Regions from separate parts of the Homo sapiens genome. Here region 2 is linked to region 1. The links are contacts of gene promoters, found by promoter capture Hi-C in human tissues and cell types (Jung and others, 2019). All regions are on one chromosome and are shown on one strand. Each heading gives the region's core, a stretch centred on a gene start or on the middle of the fragment in contact. The rest is flanking DNA. Distances are from core to core; before and after follow the strand shown.

What was found. The method cuts DNA at HindIII sites, captures the fragments that hold promoters and counts their contacts. A contact is called where the count stands out against the background at its distance.
Region 2: a contact is called between a fragment that was not itself captured here and the fragment with the promoter of CSRP2 in region 1, in 1 of the 25 tissues and cell types used here (heart left ventricle).

Annotation. Positions count from the first base shown.
Region 1 is chr12:76,874,731-76,882,550 of GRCh38, forward strand. It overlaps CSRP2 (cysteine and glycine rich protein 2), which reads right to left and starts at 4,289. Exons shown (of 6, transcript NM_001321.3): 1 at 4,208-4,289. It overlaps LOC124902971 (a long non-coding RNA gene), which reads left to right and starts at 3,629. Exons shown (of 2, transcript XR_007063380.1): 1 at 3,629-3,920; 2 at 5,158-6,735. RefSeq lists an enhancer at 1-214 and silencers at 4,049-4,478, 4,509-4,558. The HindIII fragment of the contact is 6,431 bases long and covers 781-7,211 here.
Region 2 is chr12:76,637,517-76,645,336 of GRCh38, forward strand. All of the region lies in intron 1 of LOC105369851 (a long non-coding RNA gene), which reads right to left. Among named protein-coding and RNA genes, the nearest start is that of OSBPL8, 82 kb to the left of the region's middle. The HindIII fragment of the contact is 4,564 bases long and covers 2,026-6,589 here.

The DNA.
Region 1 (7,820 bases), core at 3,039-5,538:
GCTCTGCTTCCTGTCAGATCGGCAGAGGCATTAGATTCTCATAGGAGCGGGAACGCTATTGTGAATTGTGTAGGTGAGGGATCTAGGTGCCCACTCGTTACGAGAATCTAATGCCTGGTGATCTGAGATGGAACAGTTTCATCCCAAAATTTCATGCCAAAACCATCCACCCACCATCCATGAAAAAACTGTCTTCCACAAAACTGGTCCCTGGTGCCAAAAAGGATGGGGACTGATGAGTTGGGTGACTTGCTGAGGTCACAGATCTCCAAAGAAACAAATCAGGCTCATGTTTTGATTCCAGAACCACAAGCTTTCCTCAAAACTCCCATATCTGACAGGCACAGAACATTAAGGGTTGAGACTATTCAAATGACCTGAGAATTCTCAATCCTTGAGTTACCAAATTACACACACAAATTACACACCTTCCTCTCCATCCAACTAGCGGTCAGTAAGTGGTCTCTGTGCACCACTCTCACACCCAAACTGCTACTTTCAACCAAAAAGCTTTTTATTACCCCTCTCTGCTAACCTAAATCTAACCCCACTGAAGGAAAACTCTCTTCTAATCTAGTGAACACTCCTGTGTGTACCTCAGCCTCACCATTCTTACTACTTCTGTATTCTGCTACCACTCGTGTCTTCAACTTAGAGTGCAGCAAAATTCGACACAGATTTGAATCACTATCTGCCAAATCCCATATTGTAATTAAAATGCAACTATGCTATAAGCTCAGTAACCCTGATCCCCAACATCTGCCATAGCAATCCACAATCTGTGCAAAACTACAAGTTATTTAATTATTCAAACAATTTAATATTTGCACGATTTTTTCATGGAATCAGACCTAGATATATATGCTGAGACTCTTGTTTATTTGCCAAATGATCACAGGTTGTTCATTTGATCTGCTAGTTTTCTCATTTTAAAAATGGGGACAATGCTTATTTATACAATAAGGCAGTTTTTAGATTAAACAATATATGCAAAACACCTAGAATAGTGTCTGCCACATGACAGGTAATAATTACAAATACTTCTATAAAGCTTAATATATGCTTTACTTATGTTTATATTACCTCATTTAATCCTCATAACAACTAAAGTAAGCACTACCACTATTCTCATTTTATGAGTGGGGAAACTGAGGCATAGAGCTATTAAATGACTCATAACTGTGAAACCAAAATAAAATTATCAATTCAACTTAAAAATGAATACCAATAAAATTCCAATTCAAAATTATTTCACTGATGTTTTGCTAAACTAAACCCCTGGTAGCAATACAGATGTAGTACCGACCTCCATGGCTATGGCATAGGTTCTTCTTAAGCTGAGTAGTTCCTGCACTGCCGTGTGCTGGATGAGGATTCAATTCTCTCTGCTTATTTTCTTTTGGAAGTACTGTGAAACCACCATGAAGCCCTCTTTCCTATAGTGAACTGGGAAGTAATTTGGCCCTAATGTATTACATGGTGTCTGTTCTTATTAGTCGAAGACAATAGTATTGTTGGCACAATAAGATTGTAAACAAAAAAACAAGGAACCTGATATCCTTTCCAGATCATTCACCATGTACTTCTATTAGTTCTTCCTCTGTGACTTACAACAATAAAATTTTTAACAATCAGAAATTGTGCCTGTGGTAAAAAGGAATTTGAAAAGGAAAAAATATAAAAAAAAGAAATTGTGCCCAGCTTCTCCACTATCCAGACTGAGAAATATTCCCTTAATTCAGGATTCTTAACCCAAAGGCCACAATTCCTTTTAATTCTGGGGGTTGGGGAACTTGGTACCACATACTTTATGTTACGTCATTTTGAGAAGGGGTCTGGAGGCCTCACAGGAGTGCCATGATATAAAAAGTCAGAAACCCCACCTAGGTAATCAAAGATCCAGAGGTGTCTGGGGATCCCCACCCAACAGAACCCAAGGGATGGCATGCTGGCAGTCAGGGTAAGGTGCCTTGAGGAAACCTGTGAACATCTGCACAGAGAAGAAAGCTGGCCTCCAGGCAAGGTCTAGGAAACGCTCTTCAGGTGTGAGCCAGCTCTCTCCTGAAACAGACTTTCACTGATAGCCTTTTCCCACATATATTCAACCAAGTGCACAACTTTGTCTAATTACAAGGAACTACTCCCAGGCTGGGCTGGGCTTTGTACAAGTATCAACAGGCCTTATGACAACCCTGCAAGGCATGTGCCACTACACCCATTTTACATGATGAAGTATTGAGGCCAAAGAGTAAAGTTAATTTGCCCAAGGGCATCAAACCAATGGGTACTGGAGTTGAGGTGTGAATTTGGTCCTGCCTGGCTTCGTTCCTCCCCCTTTCAGCCATGCCTCCTCTCCCATAGGGGGCTCCCTTTTGGGGTTCATTTGATTCACCTCACTTTTGACAAAGAAGAAAACCTAGAGACCCAGATCACTATAGCAATTTAGTGTCAGAGTTGCCTCTGGACTCAGGCTTCTAAAACTCCTCATTTATTGCTGTCCTCTACTCTACACCAACATTCTTGCTGTTTTAGGATAAAATTCAATCTCCCCCAAATCCAAGTGATTTTGCAATTTCATCAGGACAGGCCTCCAGCAAGTACTGCTTTCAGCACAGTACTTAGCCTATACCAGTATCAATCAATATTTGTTAAATACATTCGGAGAAATGCATTAAAAATTTATGATACGAACTTTAGATCAAATCTGCAAACAAATACCTATTGTGTGAGTCAAATTATATTTTTGTTCCCTATAATCACAACCTTATTCGCTCCTTCTTTCAGTCAATTGTCCAAGGTACCCAAGCAAGCACTGTGAGTTTCAAAGACTCATGTGATGCAGGTCTGGTCTCAAAGGTAACACAGAACCAAAAGAGCAAAGAAAACTACAATGCAGAGGAGAAAGGACCCAGAGAAATACTGACAAAGTATCAGTGACAATGGACGAGAGCGATGACCCCAGGAGTACTGGGGGAGACCACTTAGTACTTCACAACATTCTTTGTAGCTTGGCATGCAGTTCTGAAACTATGTTAGATTCTCCCTTTCAAAATCTATCACCCAATTCTTTCTTGAAAAACGTGAGTCAAAGTACAGCCAACTTTGTGGCTGTCCTATTTGAATTCTTGGCATTTTATGAGGAGAGTTTTAAAACAGGTTAATTGGAAAAGTCAAGAACTAAATACGACGATTTTCGCTGCCCGGGTTAAAAAATTACTAACTGCCCCCGCCCCACCCCCCCACCCCCCAAAAAAAATTCTGTACCGAAAAGCATTTATAAAGGGAAAATGTGCTTGGTTTGCAGACTGCAAATAAAACAGGTTAAACATTTTGGGTAGCCATTTAAGTAAAAATCGTTTAACAAATGTCCTGGCTTAGAAGGGGGAAAGGGATCCGCCGGTTTAGAAAGCCCGCCCCCGCCCCCAGGGGGTGCCTACGTGGAGCTCCTGAATCTGGCTCTGGAGAACCCAGAATGTGATTCGCAGGACCTGTCGCATAATTTCACAACCAAGCATTCTTGCATTCTTCTTTGTACCTGAATCGTAGAAAGTTCTGGAAAAAGCTAGGAGTAAGTGATTGACATTCCCTGCTGTTCCTTCAACATAGAGGGGTTCGGTGCTGGGTGGGCAGACACCACCAAACAATGGGGATGCCAGGAGCCCGGTACGGCGGCAGGAGCAGTACCCTGGGCTCGGGGGGATGTAGAAGCCCCATTCCACCCCTAGGGGACAGAACCCAGTAAGGTCGCCCTCGGTGCTCACCACACTCCGGGCAGAGGGGGCCCTGAGACTCCGACCCCCACCCCAGAGAGAGCCTGCCGCTGGACGAGGGGACCGACGGCTGCTAAGAGGCGGATTAGCAGAAACGCGAAACTCACAACCCGCCTCTCTCCCAGAGAAACCAGTATGGAGAAATTAAAGGTCATATAAGATTATTTACCTGCCCCGCGGGCCTGGGATCCCAGGGCATGGCCTGGACGGCCTCGGGGACAAGGGCAGGTGTGTTTGGGGGATAAGAGAGAGAAAATCTGGGGCGCAGGGATGAGAAGGCTGGCAGGGGCACAAATGCGGACCGGGATGGGGATGTCGGAGGAGACCGGGGCGCGCCGGCCGGGCGACAGCACGACCCCGGGAGGCGGTGGAAACCCCCTGCAACTCCCGCCCCGGGGTTGGCGGCGCCGCGGAACCGCCCCACCGCCCCTACTCACTTGAGTCGGAGGCGGGAGCACGTACCGCAGGCGGAGCTAGCGAGGCTGGGCTGGAGGGAGGGTCCAGGGAGTCCGAGATCCCAGGCGAAGCGCGCGCCGGTGCCTTTTAAAGAGCGCTCGGTGGGCGCGGCCTGTGTCCGCCCCGCCCTCCTCCCAGCCCCGCCCGCCGGATTCCCGGAGCCGCTTGCCGGGCTGGGGCGTGTAGCGGGCGGGCTGCCCTCTGCCCGCTCCGGGCTAGCCACCAGGAGACAAAAGGCAGGAGGCCCGCCTCTTCCTGCAGCTTCCCGCCCGCCCGGCATCTTCCCACGTCCCGGGACCGCTCCCTCCCAAAGGGACCCGGCAGTTCCAAAAGCCACTGGGACTTGGAGAGGGACTTCCTTCCCCTCCAGGGAGGCCCGGCGGCGGGACGGTCCCGCTGGAAAGTGGCCCCCGCCGCCCTGCGTCGGACCTGTCCACCGCGAGCGCCGATCCCCCTCTTCGCGGAGACAGTCATGGGCCGGGAGGCTCCAGCAGTAGAAAGTCAGCCAAACGGGGCTTTCCGCCACCTCCCCCTTGCCTTGTCCTTGTCAGTAAACTCAACGTGATTAACTTCCCTAGTTAACGCATATTCTCTCGTCCGATTTCCAGCTTCTGGGAATCCACAACTTCTTATTCTTAAAGAGCAAAATTCATCTAGACTAAATAAATGACGTTACGAAAACGCCCCATTCCCAAAGTGTTTCGCTCTTCCCCTCCACCAGGGCACAGCACGCGATGCTGAGGGGGAAGAAACCTAAACCCAGGCAGAAACCCCGGGCGCCACAGGCCCTGTATTTATATGTGTTGATGTCAGAAAAGCACAAGGATACCGTGACATCCGAAGGGACCTAATGCCTAAGCTACAGGATGATTTATTGTTTTAGATGAAAAGGAAAATAAACAATGCAATCTCTATCTGGTTCATATTCTAGGCCTCCTCATGACCTCTCCTGCCAGAAGCAATGATCCCGGAGAACTGATACTTGCGGAGTGGGGAGTTCAAAAAAGTCAGTGACCAAAACCCCCTCATGCCATAAATGCTATTGCCTCCTCTGGTCCAGAGTTTCTCATCCTCCACACCATTGACATCTTGGGCTGGATAATTCTTTATTGTAGGGGGCTGTCCTGTGCATTGTAGGAGGCCTCCACCCACTAGATGCCAGTTGCAACCTGCCCCCGACGTTGTGACAATCAAAAAGTCTCTGGACATTGCCAAATGCCCTCTTGGGGAGAGGGCAGGGAGCACATATCCGCATGACAACGTACAGAACCGACTTATAATATTATTATTGTTTTATTTTATATGCTGGGGCCAATCCAGGATAAACTCATTATAGCTGCCTTGTTCTCTGTCCACCAAGTACTGTCCAAAAACACATAGTGGTGATTGACATCTCCTGATACTGTGGCAGGAGTCTGGAAAGCATTCTTGCCTGCTGTGAGCTTTTCTAAATATGGGCAATCCTTATTTCAGTGATATCAGCTAGTGTAAGTGACTTGACTCACGGGCCAACAGGAAAATTCAGTCCCTCAGATTCTACATTCGCTTTAGCTCAGCTGCTTACAATGTTTATTTTTTCTTGTATAAGTTTGCCTAGTGCTTCTACTGAATGAAACTGTATCAGTGAGTCTCACTGCAGCAAACCACTGCCCTTTCTCTCCTACCCTGAGTTCTTCTCAATGCCTCTTTGTGGAAGGGGCCTCCCAAACCTGAGCTGTTTGCTTTCCGTCAAGCTCATGTTGTCCCTAAATTCCATAGCCATGTCTTATCATTTGAAATTGGGCTTGTTGGCCGGGCGTGGTGGCACATGTCTGTAATCCCAGCTACTTGGAGGCTGAGGCAGGAGAATCACTTGAACCTGAGAGGTGGAGGTTGCAGTGAGTGGAGATCACGTCAATGCACTCCAGCCTGAGTGACAGAGGGAGACTCCGTCTCAAAAAAACAAAACAAAACAAAAAAGAAATTGGGCTTGTTTCTGACCTAAAAGTGTTTCTGCTGTCTGTCCCTGTATGTGTTTGTCTCCGTGTACTTCACACTGAGTCTGCAGATGATATACAACGTGTGATTTTGAACAAATCTGTATTTGTATTTATCAACATTTAAAAAATATTTATTTTCTTTAAACATCTATTTAAACTGTTGACTCTTTTAGTTATGAACATGAAGAAATTATTTAAGAGTTTTTAGACAGAGTGGTGCAAAAGAAAGAGTATGGGCTTTGGAATCAAACACACATGATTTCAACATACAGCTCTGCCACCTATCAGTTTTGTAAGCTTGGGCTAAGTACTTGACCTCTATGCATCTGTTTCTTTATCTGTAAAAAGATAATTCTACACATCTTGTAGTGTTGTTATGAGGATTAAATTGGGTGATGTATGTAAAATGCCAAACATAGCACCTGGCACATGGTAAATACTGAATAATTGATGGTTGTTATGTTAAGCAAAGATATCTTGATGTCCTTTTTGCCTCTCAAGAAAGAAATAAAATTGTGCTTTGCTAAGTACTCATGTTGCCTTCTTGAGGGCTTGCTATTAAGAAGGTATGGAGTGTTTTCCAAAACAATTAAGAGTCTTCAGTAGGAAGCATCTGCGCGCCTGCAGAAGGATAGTGGGAAAAATGTGTCCTCAAGGAGAAGGATAAACCCTTAAGTCCACATGGTCCTAGTCTGTTTGACCCCTTCAACCTTGTAATAGGCAGAATCAAAGGTTAAATGTGTCCAGCAGGCTATTTCTTTTTCCCACTCAAAATGTGTATTATACTTGTAACAACTCTATTCTCTGGAATTCATCAACCAATTTCAAATCAAAGCCCTCTCTCAAGGTCACTGTCCTAAGGCAAGTTGAACCAAGGTTGTTGCCTTTTGTCATGACCTTGTGCTTCAAACGTAGATTTTAAAAATATTTTTATTATTTTTATTTCATGCCCCTTTTTCTTAACAAAACTCTGAATCAGATGAATGTGAATTTAAACACAAAGCCTCTTTATTTTAGGGCAAGGCTTTCTTCCCAGAAGGCAAGAAAGCTATAGTGAAGAGGAATGTCTTATTATAATGATTTTAGTATGAAAAAAAGGGAAACAATTTGCACTTTGCTAACCTACACATTTAATAACACAAAAAGAAGCAGTTTTTCTACCTTATTTCTTAGCTAAGATTTAGCAGCAGTTGTGGGAATTAAAAATTACTCATACTTAACCCTAATACTCTGTGATTTATTATCTGACAGAGAAAAGAATAATGTAAGTGATATATGCTTAAATGTTGGAAGGTAGATTAGAGTATCTTATTCTTGATATTTGTCATAGTTGCTTTTTTTAACCTGCTATAAACTCCTACTTTCTTATACTTGCTTCATTTCCTAACTCTCTTTCTCCAGTAGGCATTATTTTCATTCAGTGCTATTATCTTCTATTATGATGTTATTTATTTCTTCTTTTCAACCAGAGCTTTCTATCTTTTTGAGCTCTGCTTCTGCTTTCATATTATAGCAGAGTTTTTCTAGTTCTACTAGTAAGAAAGACACCATTAACTTCCCAGACAGCATATTCTATCCATCTTATCTTAACCCCTTAATTCCTTTATCTCACTTT
Region 2 (7,820 bases), core at 3,058-5,557, 240 kb before region 1:
GCAGAGGCCTGCTTCCATCCTAAGTAATTATATTCCTTTTTTTTTTTTTTTTTTTTTTTTTGAGACGCAGTCCTGCTCTGTTGCCCAGGCTGGAGTGCAGTGGCATGATCTTGGCTCACTGCCACCTCCACCTCCTGGGTTCAAGCAATTTTCCTGTTTCAGCCTCCCGAGCAGCTGGGACTACAGGCACAAGCCACCAAGCCCAGCTGATTTTTTCGTATTTTTAGTAGAGGTGGGGTTTCACCATATTGGTCATGCTGGTCTCGAACTCCTGACCTCAGGTGATCCACCCGCCTTGGCCTCCCAAAATACTGGGGTTACAGGCATAAGCCACTGCACCCAGCCCCTAAGTAACTAAATTCTAATAATTGGATTCTAAAGAAAATCAGAACTCGTTCACTATGTGACTAATGTACTTCATTTATGGAGTGCATTCCTGTGAGATTTGTTGTCATTATTCTCCCCCTCTTTAAGCATTGTAAAAAAAATCTGTTTGTATGTCAATAACCCATGTGATTCATGAAATCATATTCTGATCCTCTTGTTTTAACCACACAAAGTAGTGGCTTGCTAGCATTATTTATATCCCAATGTGCCCTAGACATTTCAATCAAGCAGAGATGTTTGGATCAGCATGGTATAAGTACACGTGTTCTCAAATTTATTTTCACTGTTGCTTCCTATAATTAACTACTGACATAATTTCAAATAGCTAATAGTTGCTTAATATGTAGAAATAACTGAATACAACTCATCTCTGCTCTATTTTTTAAATGTATTTTTAGTGTGTATTTTATTTTCTTGATTATAAATGTAACAACTGTTCATGTAGAATTTTTGTTAATTAGGATTAGTTTGCCATGCTGATTTTTAAAACATTTTTTCCCACTTAATGTGGTGGGTCTGTTATAGAATTGTTTCTAATTTAATATTCAAATTTTTATGAAAATAGGCCAGGTGCAGTGGCTCACACCTGTAGTCTCAACACTTTGGAAGGCTGAGGTGGGCATATTCCTCGAGCCCAGGAGTTCAAGAACTGTCTGGGCAACATGGCAAAACTCCATCTCTACAAAAAATATATAGAAATTAGCAGGGCATGGTGATGTATGCCTGTAGTCTCAGCTACTCTGGAAACTGAGGTGGGGGAATCCAATGAGCCCAAGAGGTTGAGGATGCAGTGGGCCATGATCGCACCACCACACTCCAGCCTGGGCAACAGAGCGAGACCTTGTCTCAATAAATAAATAAATTCATTTTAATGAAAATAATACATTTATGCAGATTAAAATAGTCAAATACTATGATTAGGTTTATAGTGAAAAATAGCAGTCCTCTTTACTCTTCCTCCCATTCTAATTCCCATTCTTCCACAGATAACTGCTGTTTTAGTCTATTCAAACTGCTCTAACAAAGTACCTTCGACTGGATAATTTATAAACAACAGAAATGTATTGCACAGTTCTGGAGGCTGGAGAGTCCAAGCTCAGGGTGCTGGCAGACTCAGCATCTGGTGAGGGTCCATTTCCTCATAGATGGCACCTTCTAGCTCCGCCCTCACTTAGTGGAAGGGCAAAGAGGGAAACAAGCTCCCTCACACCACTTTTATAAGGGCACTAATTACATTCACTAGGGCTCTGCCTTCGTGACCTAACCACCTCCCAAAGATCCCACCTCTTAATATCAACACATTGGAGATTAGATTTCAACATATGAATTTTGGAGGGACACAAATATTCAGACCATAGCAACCACTTTGGAAATATCTTAGCTATTTTGGTGGTATATACCTTGGTAATCTGAAATAACACGTGAATACTGCTGTTTTCTGTTTTGTATTGTTGTTTTTAAAATTTCAGTATCTGCTTTGACATGCTGGTTTCTATGGGAGCCCTTCATTTCCCTGGTCTTATGTTTCCACTTGGGGCAATGTTAGCAAAAATAACTCTTTGGGCCTCTCTCTCCATTTCTCACTCCCTCCTCCAGGAAGAAGGGACTTACTTGGCTAGTGAGCAGGCCTGCCTCAGCCTCTTCTTTCTCTTGGATGAACCTGCCTGAGGCAAGGTGCCTTCAATTTGGCTCTCCCATTTGGTGAGCATATTGAGGCAGTGTCTGTTCTGTGCAATAGGTTAGTGATGAAGGGGCTAAGTCTGCTTAACTCATAGTTGAAATATTAGGAAGATCACACTCTGTGCTCCAACCCAGCATTTGTTTGACAGAAGCTATTAATGCTCCCCTCCCAGGCCCCCACCTACCTCTAACTGTAAGCTCACCTGCTGTGGTGTGACAGCTTCCACCCTGCTGACAGCCTCCCACCTTAAGCTCTAGCATCTCTTTACTTCACCACAGCAGGGCTTTCTTTGGCCCGACAGGAGCTCTTAGTTGTATAAGCAGAATGAGAAATGCAGAGGCGTTTGCGTACGCCATCTTCAACAAGTCGACCAGCCTCCCTGTCCTCTGGTGGGACAATGCAAAGGCGTGTTCCACCCTGTTTCTCAGAAGGTCTCCAGTGGGACTGAGCTCACTGACACATTCTTAATGGCTTTTCTCCTTTTCCAGTCTCTCTTTCCCATACCCTCACTCCACTTCCTAGAATCACTTCCCCCAAAACCTTCCCACACCCAAACCTTGAAGCTGATATTTTGATCTTTATCCATCTGACTCTTATTACCATCTCTCAATTGATTCTGAACAATCTCCTATGATGAAAGATGAGGATTTAAGTGGGGCATGGTGGCTCATACCTGTAATCCCAGCACTCTGGGAGGCCGAGGTGGGTGGATCACCTGAGGTCAGAAGTTCAAGACCAGCCTGGTCAACATGGTGAAACCCCATCTCTACTAAATATACAAAAATTAGCCGGGCATGGTGGCATGTGCCTGTAATCCCAGCTACTAAGGAGGCTGAGGCAGGACAATTGCTTGAACCCGGGAGGCAGAGGTTGCAGTGAGCCGAGATCGTGCCACTGAGCTCCAGCCTGGGCAACAAGAACAAAACTTCATCTCAAAAAAAAAGAAAGATGAGGATTTAAGTCTGTTTCTCTCCCCACACTCTCCACTTACATACATGCGTGCTTTTCCAATCTGCATGCCTCAAATATAGTTATACAATCAGTATTGAATTAAATTAGTATTAAATAATTACATGATTATGACCATAAGTACATATCTGATCCACATATATACTACCTTAAACTTCCTGCATCAACTTTTGTCTATAAAACCCCTCTGACATGGCCAAATACATCTGACCATCTATCAGTCCCATTTTTTCTTGGCGTTGTTGCTCCTGCCTCCTGCTCCAGCCTGGCCTGGTTGCTGTCCGACCTGCTACCCAGATTCTGACCTTTGCCACCATCATGGGATGTCCCCTGGCCTCCTCTGGTGCTGGATATCCATTTTCCTCTTTCTCAGTTTACTCTCTTATTTTAGTGGAGCCCAATAACTCCCAGGAGCTTTCTGAGAAGCAGATATGGAAGGTAAATTATTTGAGTCCTTGCTTGTCTGAAAAAATCTTTAGCTTTTTACTTTATGTAGAGTTTAAGCAGACAGAGAATTTTACTTAGAAATCATCTTCTTTTAGAATTTGGAAGTTTTAATCAATTATCATCTAGTTTCCAGTGGTTGCTACTAGGAATTTTGATCCCATTTTGATTCCTGATACTTTGTGACCTTGCTTTGCTTTTCTCTTTCTTTCCTTCTTTCCTTTTCTTTTCCCTCCCTCTCTCTCTTCTTTCTTTCCCTTTCTTTCTTTCTTTTCTTTCTTTCTTTCTTTCCTTTTCTTTCTTTCTCTCTGTCTTTCTTTCTTTTCTTCTTTCTCACTTTCCTTCTTTTTTTTTTTTTGACAGGGTCTCACTCTGTCCCCCAGGCTAGAGTGCAGTGTCAAGATCTCAGCTCACTGCAGCCTTGACCTCCTGGGCTCAAGCAATCCTTCCACCTCAGCCTCCCGAGTAGCTGAGACTACAGGCATGTGCCACCATTCCTAGTTAATTTTGTATTATTTGTAGAGATGGGGTCTCCCTGTGTTGCCCAGGCTGGTCTCAAACCCCTGGGCTCAAGCAATCTGCCTGCCTCAGCCTCCCAAAGTGTTGGGATTACAGGCGTGAGCCACTGTGCCCAGACTAATTTTTCCTTTCAAGGAGTTTTCATAGATATGTCTTTTAAAATCTTTTGTCTTTTGAAATTTCATGATGTTGTTCTTTGGTTTAGTTTTTTGACCGGACTGTAACTGAAATGTTTTCATCAGAAAACTCAGGTCCTTAAATTCTGGGAAATTGGTTTGTACGTCTCTAATGCTCTTCCTTACATATTGCATCTGTTTGTCTTGTTTGTGTGTGTGCGTGTTTTGTTTTCTTGTCTTGTTCGTGTGTGTGTGTGTGTGTTGTGTGTTTTGGGTTTTTTTTGTTTGTTTGTTTTTAAGACAGGGTCTCACTCTGTTGCCCAGGCTGAAGTGTAATGGTGCAATCATAGTTCACTGCAGCCTCAAACCTCTGGGCTCAAGGAATCCTCCTGCCTCAGCCTCCTGAGTAGCTGGGACTCTAGGTGTGCACCACCATGCCTGGCTTATTTTGCTATGTTGCCCAGGCTGGTCTTGAACTCCTGGCCGCAAGTGATCTGCCCCCTTGGCCTCCCAAAGTGCTGGGATGACAGGCATGAGTCACTGCATCTGGCATCTGTTTATCTTTTTGTTCTTTCTGGGAAATACACTTGACCGTATATTCAAGCTTCCTTTTGATTTTTCATTTCTACCATCTTATTTTTTAATGTTGAAGACCTTTAGACTATTCTCTAAATATTCCTTTAAAAATAGTGTTCCTGAGATCACAGCCTTTCTGATACAACCATTTGAGAGAACAAATTTCCACTTTTCTGTCAGGGGAGGGAACGGGTAGCCACGTAGAGAGGGATGAAGAGATGGGGAAGTGGGTCATCTCCCTACTCCTTTTCAAGATTTTTAACCAATCCTTCTGTTTTAGGCCCAATTGTATCCCTACCTGAGCTCTTCTGTGATTCTACAGTTTGCTTCTTATTAGTCCTTTCCATGCAGCCCTCCTTTACTCTGACCTTTTCTCCCCCAATGCAGACTTAAATTTCAATTCTCTGGTCTGCTAAATCAATTACTACTCATACATATGTTTCTAGGAGGTAGAATATTTTTACCATAGAATTGTAAGATGATTGACATATACTTCCAACTACCTCTCTAATAACGGCATGACATTTGCATAGTGTGTTGTAGTTTCTTTTTTTCTTTTTTCTTTTTTTTTTTTTTTTTTGAGACGGAGTCTCGCTCTGCTCTGTCGCCCAGGCTGGAGTGCAGTGGCACAATCTCCGCTCACTGCCAGCTCCGCCTCCCGGGTTCACGCCATTCTTCTGCTCAGCCTCCCGAGTAGCTGGGACTACAGGCGCCTGCCACCATGCCCGGCTAATTTTTTGTATTTTTGGTAGAGACAGGGTTTCACCATGTTAGCCAGGATGGTCTTGATCTCCTGACCTCGTGATCCACCCGCCTCGGCCTCCCAAAATGCTGGGACTACAGGCGTGAGCCACCGCGCCCAGCCTGTATGTTGTAGTTTCTGTAGTACTCTCACATATATGCTCCCATGTCATCCTTCCATCAGTTTGGTGAAAAAGGGTTTATTATTCCCATTATGCAGGCTCATTTAGCACTTAAAGCAAGATAGTGATTGCTGAATGCCAACCACTAATAAGCCAGCCTTACAGATGATAATTTGTTTAATCCTCAAAACAACTTTTTACGGTAGGAAGTATTACTATCGCCATCTTATAGTTGGGAAAATTGAGGCACAGAGGTATAGTAATTTACCCAAGTTCCATTAGCTAGTACATAGTGAAGCTGAGGCTTGGCAGTCTACCTCTAAAGTCCATGATCTTAAATCGTATTTTATGTTGCAAATAAAATGTTAAATAACAGACTCAAAAAAAGTAATTTTCTAGAGTCAGACAGGAGATAAAGGGTTAGAACAAGTACTTGAGCCAGTGTTTTTGACTCCCTGCCTAAAATGCTCTCCAAATTACCATTCAAGGTGGTTGTCAACATTGAAATTTATAGCAGAGCAGTGAGACACCTCAGAGACATAAGTTGCTAGGGATTCTGCTCTTCTTATAGAGCTGTGATAAATGCACTTGGTATGTAAATATTTGATTCTATCTACAACTGGTTTCTTAGAATGGATTTTTAGAAGCTGTATTACTGGATGAAAAATACATGAGGTTCTTGGCACAATGTTTCACACTTGTAATCCCAGCTACTCAGGAGGCTGAAGCAGAAGGATCATTTGAGCCCAGGAGTTCAAGGCTGCAGTAAGCTATGATTATGCCACTGCACTCCAGCCTGGGTGACAGAGTGAGAGCCTGTCTAAAATATAATTAATAGCTGGGCACGGTGGCTCATGCCTGTAATCCCAGCACTTTTGGAGGCTGAGGCAGGCAAATCACTTGAGGCCAGGAGTTAGAGACCAGCCTGGCCAACATGGTGAAACCCCATCTCTACTAAAAATACAAAAAAAATAAGCTGGGTGTGGTGGTGGGCACCTGTAATCCCAGCTAATTGGGAGGCTGAGGCAGGAGAATTGCTTGAACCTGGGAGTCAGAGGTTGCAGTGATCTGAGATGGTGCCTCTGCACTCCAGCCTGGGCAACAGAGCGAGACTCCATCTCTAAATAAATAAATAAATAAATGAATAAATAAATAAAGGAGGAAATAAAATATACCAGAACAAATACTAAAATATTTCTCTGGCTTACAGAAAAGGTTTTCTTCTTAATTCTGTTTATCTAAAGATTTGTAAGAGAAGTAAAAATGATACAGTGAACATAAAACCAACCAACCTAAGATTTCCCCTTTTTCTTCTAGCAGAATCCAGTATTCATGGTCTATATTACTTTTAAATAAGAGAGGAAATTGCTATAAAATGCTTTTTACTATAATAATTCCTACCAAGTCCTATAAAACTTCTGGACTTCTGCACCACTGACAGAGTTATTAAGTAAAGCCCAGAGTTTATTGATGAAACAATGCTTTAGCAAAACAGCCACTGGCAGCTTAAGTAAAAGGGAGTAAGCACTTGACTTACAAAATTTACCTGAATAATTTCTGGCTGTTTTATAAATAAATAAATAAATAAATGGATTTTCCTAAAAGGAGAGTTCTAAAAGGAGAGTTTCTAAGGAGAATATTGCTCACAGGTGAATTCCACTTTTCAGAAACAGTGAACAATTTGAACCTGGCTACTGAGGTCCAAATTTCCTCGCACCCCCAGTGATTTAGTCTACTGGCAGGGTGGGAGTTTCCCAGGCACAACTGCAGCTGCCCAAGCTGCAGCTGCAACCCAGGCACCCCTGTGCTCTTGAGAGCCAGGAGCAGGCAGGAGTCCTGCCCTCCCAGGTGCAGCTGCAGCTGCAGCTGCTCAAGCCCTGGCTGTGGACCCAGGCATCTCTGCACTCTCAGGGCTCCGGGAAGGTCCCCCAATCCCCTGCAGGCTTGGAAGTGCCTGCTCCCACTGCTTGTCTTCTCTCTGCTCTCAGCACCCAATCCGGTCATGGAGCAAAGTTGAGGCTGAGCCTGGGCACTGTTGCAATCTGGCCGGGTGTGCACATGCTCAGGGCAGTGCTGACATGCCAGCCCCCTGCCGCTTTGGGCCCCTCTGGACTTTGGGTGCCAGTGATCACAGGAGAGAGGCTGGGGGGGTGCTGAGGGCAGCTCTGCGCTGGCCTGCAGGTGCCCCTTTGCACAAACAGCCTGGGCATCATGAATGGCGGCAAGAGGCAGACAGGCTCCTGGGCAGAAGGGGGCGGGTCCCTG